2 separate regions of the Homo sapiens genome follow, and region 1 is linked to region 2. The links are contacts of gene promoters, found by promoter capture Hi-C in blood cells and fetal thymus (Javierre and others, 2016). All regions are on one chromosome and are shown on one strand. Each heading gives the region's core, a stretch centred on a gene start or on the middle of the fragment in contact. The rest is flanking DNA. Distances are from core to core; before and after follow the strand shown.

The links. The method cuts DNA at HindIII sites, captures the fragments that hold promoters and counts their contacts. A CHiCAGO score of 5 or more calls a contact.
Region 1: a fragment that was not itself captured here is called in contact with the fragment with the promoter of GARRE1 in region 2 in 7 of 17 cell types (naive CD4 T cells, naive CD8 T cells, naive B cells and 4 more); the score reaches 8.7 in naive CD4 T cells.

The regions. Positions count from the first base shown.
Region 1 is chr19:34,315,455-34,320,241 of GRCh38, reverse strand. GARRE1 (granule associated Rac and RHOG effector 1) reads right to left here. Exons shown (of 14, transcript NM_014686.5): 3 at 126-335. Among named protein-coding and RNA genes, the nearest start is that of GPI, 47 kb to the left of the region's middle. RefSeq lists an enhancer at 164-458. The HindIII fragment of the contact is 3,607 bases long and covers 1-3,406 here.
Region 2 is chr19:34,252,314-34,256,523 of GRCh38, reverse strand. It overlaps GARRE1 (granule associated Rac and RHOG effector 1), which reads right to left and starts at 1,970. Exons shown (of 14, transcript NM_014686.5): 1 at 1,910-1,970. RefSeq lists an enhancer at 1,152-1,673. The HindIII fragment of the contact is 8,095 bases long and covers 1-4,210 here.

The DNA.
Region 1 (4,787 bases), core at 354-2,853, 64 kb before region 2:
CAATGATAACAGTTTAAAATGTACATTTCTAAATGAAATGGCTGTTTTGAGAATCAACAGGCAAAGGCCCTCTGGAGCCTCTCCTATTTGAACACAGGCACCAATCTCCCCAAAGCCAGGGTTACCTCAGCAGCCCCCCGCCAGGACCGCACAGCTTCCTCTACTTCAGGTGTGTGGCCCATGCCAGATAAGCCGCCGCCACTGCCGCTGTTCTTTTTTTCTGGCACGATGACCTCAGCAAAGCAAGAGTGAGCCACCGGCTGGACCTTCTGTAACGCATGAGTCAAAAACTGGAAATGGACTTGCACCACAGTCAGGAAACATCGCCCCAACACCTGTGAAAACAAGACAGCCAGGGATGTTTAGGTTGTGGGTTGCTGTTGGATTCGCGCAGTAAATTTTCAATGACCAACTTGAATAGAAGCAATAGTTAACTGGAAATCCAAAATCATACAAAGTTAAAAGGCCACCATGCTTCAGAAGGATCTGCCTTTGTTTTTGTGTTTGGACCTCGGTGACTGATGCCTGGAAGTCAAAACATTTCCATCAAATAACAAGGCCCAAGGTTGAAATAATTCTTCCCATTTCCCACCAAGTAACCCCCAATCCTGTCTCCACCCCCTATATCTGGACTCACACCACTTCTGGTGTCTTTGAGCTCCTGCTGAACCACAGCCATCCACAACAGCAATTACGTCCATACAGTATTCAGAAGGTAAAGGAAAAACCATGCAACTAAAAATCTGAAAGAAGGCCAGTTTGACCATAAGACATTCCGTTGAAAATGGAATCCAAATATACCGGTTATTTTAGTAGGAGTGTTAACATAGTTATTAACATAGTTGTATGTCATCATTCCAGTCTTAGGAAACAAAGCTGACAGACCAGTCTTCCAGGAGTCAAGAAAATATAATGGACAGCTCCACTCATGAGTACAGTAGAAACCCATTAACCTGATATATATCAGTGATTGGTTGCTAATAGTCCAAGTAGGAAATTAACTTAAAAAATACTATACACATGAATATGTAATTATAATAAGATGTATACTAAATATATACTATGTGCCACAAACATTTTCAGATATGATTGTGCATTTCTCTGGCAGCCTTCTGGTATGGGCTAAGGCTGTTCTGACAGCTCCTTTGCTGCTCCTCCCTGTTACTTTCTTGCATAAACCACAGTTACAATGTGTTCTCTATCATTTCTTATTTATCTTTTTTTTTTGAAATGGAGTCTCGCTCTGTCACCCAGGCTGGAGTGCAGTGGCGTGATCTCGGCTCACTGCAACCTCCACATCCTGGGTTTAAGCGATTCTCTGACCTCGGTGCACTATCACACCCGGCTAATTTTTGTATTTTTAGTGGAGACGGGGTTTCACCATGTTGGCCAGGCTGGTCTTGAATTCCTGACCTCAGGTGATCCACCTGCCTCGGCCTCCCAAAGGGCTGGGATTACAGGCATGAGCTCCCATGCCCGGCCTTATTTCCTCTTTAACACAGGGCAAAAACTGGCCACTTACAAAGCAACTTGACCACAAACCTTCCAGATTATTGACATTTTTTCCTAATTTCTCATAGTTGTTTTGCCCACATCAGATTTGGCAATAATACCAACAAAAACCTTTTGCAGCTCTTTTATCCTGCTCCCTAATAATTTTTTGTGGAAGATATTTTATATTTCTTTGGCTTATGCAGATTACTTATTCACAACAACTTACTTTATTGAGTTTGCAATTCACCCAGCTGAGCAGGAGTGGACCTGAGAGAGCCTACTCACAGCCGGCCCTCAGCCCACTGCCTCACGCAAGTGGTGAAGGTCAGGGAACTATAGCCATTGCTTTTTACAAGGAACCAAAATCCAGCACAGTGCCCATGCACTGTCCTGTCCCTTGAGCAGCACACAGTAAGACTCAACCTTCCTCTCCCCTCAGGTGCACACGTGGACTCTCTGCCTTGTGGCACGCATGTGGACCTCTCGCCTTGCCTCGCCTCAGCATCTACCTTTGCCACACGCCCTCTCAGTTCCCAAGAGTCAGAGCTGTTTCTTCTTGGAGAAGCAGGGGCAAGCCAGTTCCCAGCAAGACACTTATTATCTCCGAATCCCTCCTCACCCTGTGGAAATCACCAGGACCAAACTAAAGCAAACAAAAAACCGCACACAAATCTCACACCAAAGCACTTGCCCTCCAGAGGGAACAACAACCGACATCACAGGCTGAAGCCCCCCAAACTCCTGGGCTTCCACTCACACCTCCTTCAGAGCCCTTCCCCCAGTGCTCTGTGCTAGACTGGGCAGGGTGAGGGACACGAAGGCAGCGCACCTAGGCCAGTTAGACAGGTGCCAGGAGTAGAATAAGCAGCAGCTATTTAGTCCTGTAGAGCACACAGACAGCTTTAGTGGAGCACACAGCCTGTACCTGACCAATGCTGGAGAGTCACATGGGCTAGCGCATTCAATCCCAGGAACCACCCTATGAGGTCATCCTCCCTTCATAGACAACAAGATCAAGGCATAGAAAGGCTACAAAATTTTGTCAACGGGACACAATCTGCATGTGGTGGACCAGTCACCTGACTCAAGTGTCCATGCCCTTCACCTGTGTGCCCCACTGCCTTCAGCAGACTCTAAACTGGCATCGGCTTGCATGTGACAGGAACTCCACCTTAACTGGTGTAGGCTGAGGGTTTCCTCAATCTCCCCACCCACTGCAGACACAGGGAGGGGGAGTGAGCCGGCTCCTCAGGGACACAAACTATTCCTCCCACTCCTTCCTCAGCACCTTGGCAGCTATGGGAAGCTGGAGGAGGAGGAAAAAGGGAAGACGCCATGCTCCATTAGCTCTGGGTTCACACTCTCACAGCTCTGATGGACACAACTTAGTCATTCATTCTCTCAATAAATATATAAGATGGGGATGCCTGATATGCACCAAGCACAAAGAGCTGGGAACACTACTGGAAAGAGAATGAGCAAGTCCCTGCTCTCGCCAGGGCGACATTCTAATGGGGAAGACAACAGGCAATGAACAGATATGCAAGGCCGGGTGCTGCTGGGAAAGGAACACAGACGGATGGGAAGGAAAAGGCTCCTCAAGGAAATGACCGAGGGCAAAGGGAGAGCTACCCTGTCCCCTCCCCTACTAAGGGGCAAAGTTCTGAGGAATGGCTGAAGGCCTGAAGGAGGGCCCCCAGATCAAGAACAGGATGCTCTCTGACAAGGCCATCACCCCTGGGGAGAATGAGGTGGAGGAAGCCCTCTTGCTGTGGGGTGGCAGTAAGGAGGGCAGAACCCTGCTGTAGGAAGGAGTGGGGGAAGAGACACAGGTCAGTTTAAAAGGCATTGTCTGTGTTGTCTCCACCACTTAGGATGTGTTTGACCTTGGATGAGTCATTTAACCTAAGCTTCTTTCCTATAAATAAGGAATGAGGACAACAGCTCAGCTACTGTACACCTCCCTCTCCTACCCAGGATGCCTGGAGACCAACTCAGTCATACAAATTATGATTGTAACAAAATATCTGTGTTGTAAATAACTTATTCAAAGCCAATCAAACCAATGGTTAACGCTGGACCTTGGAAACAGCTGTTTCATCAGATATCTGCTCTAAAAATTTACCCAGAGTAACAGATGCATAACCACCACCTTCTCTTGAGAGAGTACAGAGCTCAACCTCCAGCCTGCCTCTGCCCACCTTTCCCCTCCGAGGATCTCAGGTCTTAGCTCAGCTCCTCTCCTGAAACAGACCCCACTCTCCTTGACCCAGGAATGAGCCAGTCTTTGGGCGTCTTCCTGACATAAGTTTGGGAGAGTGTGACCCCAGGGCTGTGGAAAGCTATTTTCTCCTTCACATGGAGAAAGTTTCCTGGACTGTGTGGTTCAGTCAAATTGCAGAACACATGGGGGAAGCTGGGGAGTGGATGAGCAGAGTGGCCAAAGGCAGGTTTTTAAGTTTAAAATGCCAGTGAAGCTCTATCAACAGCTACCATTTATTGAGTGTTTAAATACCAAGCACCTTATGTTTGGTGAACCATCCCTGTGGGGTGTGAGCAATTCACCCATTTTACGGATGATAACACTGAAGTTTACAGAGATAAAGAAACTTGCTCAATGTCAAGCAGGTAATAAGTAGGGATCTGACACCAGGTCTGTTTGACTCCGAAAACTGTGTTGCTAACCACCAGGCTACTCTTTCTACCTATGACAAGATCCAGAATGAAGCCACAATAGTGGATAAATACTAATCAGAGAAGGAGCTATGGATTACAGACAGCTATCGGGGTCTACTGAATGAGAGCCTGTTTTCTAGCAACCCTTGATGGTGGAGGAGAAGGGTGCATCTTTACCTTCCTATTCCCTTGCACACACACAACATCTGCTGCTAAGGATGTTGTATTCATGTACATAACCAGAATACCTTTTCTTTTTGATGATATTTATATTTTATTCAGATTGTAAAACAGATTTTAATTTAAGGCCTTCCCATTTGGAGCACCAAAAAACTACCCTTTTTTTTTTTTTTTTTTTTTTGAGACAGAGTCTTGCTCTGTTGCCCAGGCTGGAGTGCAGTGGCACAATCTTGGCTCACTGCAAGCTTTGCCTCGCGGGTTCATGCCATTCTCCTGCCTCAGCCTCCCAAGTAGCTGGGACTACAGGCACCCACCACCACGCCAGGCTAATTTTTTGTATTTTTAGTAGAGACAGGGTTTCACCGTGTTAGCCAGGATGGTCTTGATCTCCTGATCTCATGATCCACCCGCCTTGGCCTCCCAAAGTGCTGGGATTA
Region 2 (4,210 bases), core at 721-3,220:
TTTTGAGATGGAGTCTCACTCTGTTGCCCAGGCTGGAGCGCAGTGGCACGACCTCGGCTCACTGCAACCTTCGCCTCCTGGGCTCAAGCGATTCTCCTGCCTCAGCCTCCCAAGTAGCTGGGACTACAGGAGCGCGCCACCATGCTTGGCTAATGTGTTTTTTTGTATTTTTTTAGTTGAATCCGGGTTTCACCACGTTGGCCAGGCTGGTCTAGAACTCCTGACCTCAAGTGATCCGCCCGCCTCGGCCTCCCAAAGTGCTGGGATTACAGGCATGAGCCATCGCGCCAGGCTGGAATTTTTTTTTATGACAAAGAGACAGAAAAATTGTCCAAATATGTCAAAGGAAAACAAATACTATGTATTCTTAAAAATTGAACGTTACGGCCGGACACGGTGGCTCACGCCTATAATCCCAGCACTTTGGAACGCCGAGCCAGGCGGATCACCTGAGGTCAGGAGTTCGAGACCAACCTGGTCAACTGGGCGAAACCCTGTCTCTACTAAAAATACAAAAATTAGCCGGGCGTGGTGGGTGCCTGTAATCTCAGCTACTCGGGAGACTAAAGCAGGAGAATCGCTCGAACCCGGGAGGCTAAGGTTGCAGTTAATCTAGATCCCGCCACTGCACTCCAGCCTGGGTGACAGAGGGAGACTGTCTCAAAAAAAAACAAATAAAGTTACCTTTGACCCCATTTGTAAATTTATTCTAAGATAACAATCAGACCAGGTGTAATATCTCACACTTGTAATCCCAACACTTTGGAAGGCGAAGGCGTGAGGGTCGCTTGAGGCCAGAAGTTTTGAGACCAGCCTGGGCAACAGTCTCTTATTAAAAAAAAAAAAAAAAGACCATATCAAACAAATCCTTCCGGCAGAATTGTTTATCTTGTGACAAATTGGAAACTATCTCAATGCTCATCGGTGGTTAAATCACATACTGTAAAGTCCATAAAAATAACAATACCTATCTGTATTTATTGATTATCACCAAAATGTTAGCAGTGGTTGTCACTGAATGGTAGACTGGCAGATGACTGTCATTTTCTACCTTAAGACTTTTTGTGTCGTCTTGAGTGTTTTGCCAGGAAAGGAGAATTAACTGCTTTTATAATGGGGATGAGGGACCAGAACAAGGTATTTTCAAACTGGAGGCCCCCAAAGCTGAGTCTCTGGAAAATTTCTAAAAAGTCTAAACAAAATTCTTATCATGCCAACCAGGCACGCTTCTTTCCTCGCACCGCGCGGCGCAGAAAGACACACCCCTGACTCTGCGCTCGTCCCTCGGGCTCGGGTCCTCCACGCTCAGCCCCGGCCCTCCCGGTCCCCGCGGACCCTCCCCTCGGGCCCAATGCGCCAGCTGGCTCCGCAGGGCCGGAAAAGCGCGTTCCTCGGCAGCCTGGCGCCGCCGGGAAGGTGCGCGCAGCCCGCCCGGCAGCCCCGGGATGGCGTGAGGGCCGCCTCCCCGGCTAGCCCCAGCGGACCCCTGCCGCCAGCAGGCCGCCCTCCCTCCGCGGGCTTCCGGGAGCGGGTCCTGGCGCCAGCGCGACCTCCCGGGCCCCGGCGAACCGAGGGAGCGTCCCCTTTCCCCGCCTGACGGGCGCCGACCCGCCCCTGCGGTGCCGCGGCCGCCGAGTCTCCGACGCGCCCCCAGGTCCCGGGTTCGCGCCAGGAGGCCCCTCCGGGCTTCCGTCGGCCGGCCAGCGCCCGCAAAGCCCGGCGTCCTCCACAGCGGGCGGGCAAGGGGCGGGAGCCCACGGCCCCGCGCCCTGCGGCCCCGAGCGGAGCGGCGCCCCGCGGGCCCGTCTCGCCGTCTGCCCTGGCTGCGGCCCGCGGCCCCGCTGCCCACCGCCCACCGCCCGACCCCGCCCGCCAGCCCCCGCCTGCGCCCGCCGCGCCCGCTCCTCACCTGCGACGCGCCCCGGCCCCCAGCGCACCGCCTTGGACCGGCTGTGTACACCGGAAGTTACGTCTCCGGTCCGGCCCCGCCCCCGCCTCGGGCGGACGCGGGGAGGTTGCGGATCCCGCGCCTAGAGCGGACTCTCCTCTCGCATTAGAGGGGAGGGGGCGCCCCGGAGCCTCCTCTCCTGGGACCCTGGGCCCCCAAGCGGGACGGCCGGGGCGGAGGTTGAGGACTGGCGGCCAGAGCCGGAGGTCCACCCAGATCCCCCACCATGGCTTGGCCCCCGGGCGGGAGGGGTCGGGCTGCGTCCTCCTGGATTTATTACTGAAATTGACTGAAATCGATTACTGGCGTATGGAGTGTTTCCTAGATGCCAGGCCCCGACGGGCACTGCAGGAACGGGTAGTGCTCTCTCCCTCATAAGTTTATTCCTTAGTGGTAAATACACAATACCATTGTCACATATCCGGGTGATAATATAGTACCAATGGTGACAAGTGGTAGGAGGGGAAAGAGTAAGAGGGAGGGAGAGAGTACCCTGACCTAGTAAAGGAGAGTGATCCGGAATTCCCCCAGGGAAAGAGCAGGAGCTGAGGTCCTAAGGGGTAGAAGGGAGAAAAAAAAAAAAAAAAACGAGAAGGGAGGAGAACACATTACGCAGAAGCAGCAGCAAGGGTCTTCCAGTTCTGTGGGTTTTGTTTGTTTGAGACGGAGTCTTGCTCTATCGCCCAGGCTGGAGTGCAGTGACGTGATCTTGGCTCGCTGCAACCTCCACCTCCCGGGTTCAAGTGATTCTCCTGCCTCAGCCTCCCGGATAGCTGCGATTACAAGCGTGCGCCACCACGCCCGGCTAATTTTTGTGTTATTAGTAGAGACGGGATTTCCCCATGTTGGCCACGCTGGTCTCAAACTCCTGACCTCAGGTGTTCCGCCCACCTCGGCCTCCCAAAGTGCTTGAGCCACGGAGCATGGCCCAGTTTTGTGTTCCAATAATAAATCAGAGTGGTGAGAAGTTAGGTCTTACTTGACAGTGTTGCAAAACTAATGAGTTTTAAGCAAGAGGTGATTTGTCCATACTTGAGAGTGTAAAGGGGTTACTCTAGATGCAGTGTGGAGAAGGAAGGACTACGGAGGGGAGGCAAGAGTGGATATAAATGTGTACACCCATGTTCATATTAGTCAGAAGGTGGAAGCAACCCAATGTCCATCCACGGGTGAATGGGTTCACAAAATGTGGTATAAACATAACAATAGAATATTACTCAGCGTTGAAGGAGGCCGGGCGCCGTGGCTTACGCCTGTAATCCCAGCACTTTGGGAGGCCAAGGCGCGTGGATCACCTGAGGTCAGGAGTTCGAGACCAGCCTGACCAACATGATGAAACCCCGTCTCTACTAAAAATACAAAATCAGCCAGGCGTGGTGGCGCATGCCTATAATCCCAGCTACGATGCAAATAGATGAGCTTTGAAGATATTATGCCAAAAGAAACCAGTCACAAAGACAAATATCCTATGATTCCACTTACATAAGGTACCTAGAGTAGTCAAAAACATAGAGACGGGCCAGGCATGGTGGCTCATGCCTGTAATCCCAGCACTATGGGAGGCTGAGGCAGGAGGATCACCTGAGGTCAGGAGCTCCAGACCAGCCTGGCCAACATGGTGAAATCCCATCTGTACTAAAAATACAAAAAGTTAGCCAGGCGTGGTGGTGGAGGCCTATAATCCCAGCTACTTGGAAGGTCGAAGCAGGAGAACAACTTGAACCTGGGAGGCAGAGGTTGCAGTGAGCTGAGATTACGCCACTGTATTCCAGCCTTGGCGATGAAGCGAGAATCTATCTCAAAAAAAAAAAAAAAAGAGGCCGGGTGCAGTGGTTCACGCCTGTAATCCCAACACTTTGGGAGGCCGAGGTGGGCGGATCATGAGGTCAGGAGATCGAGACCATCCTGGCTAACATGGTGAAATCCCATCTGTACTAAAAATACAAAAAGTTAGCCAGGCGTGGTGGTGGAGGCCTATAATCCCAGCTACTTGGAAGGCCGAAGCAGGAGAACAACTTGAACCTGGGAGGCAGAGGTTGCAGTGAGCTGAGATTACGCCACTGTATTCCAGCCTTGGCGATGAAGCGAGAATCTATCTCAAAAAAAAAAAAAAAAGAGGCCGGGTGCAGTGGTTCACGCCTGTAATCCCAACACTTTGGGAGGCCGAGGTGGGCGGATCATGAGGTCAGGAGATCGAGACCATCCTGGCTAACATGGTGAAACCCCGTCTCTACTAAAAATACAACAAAAAATTAGCCGGGC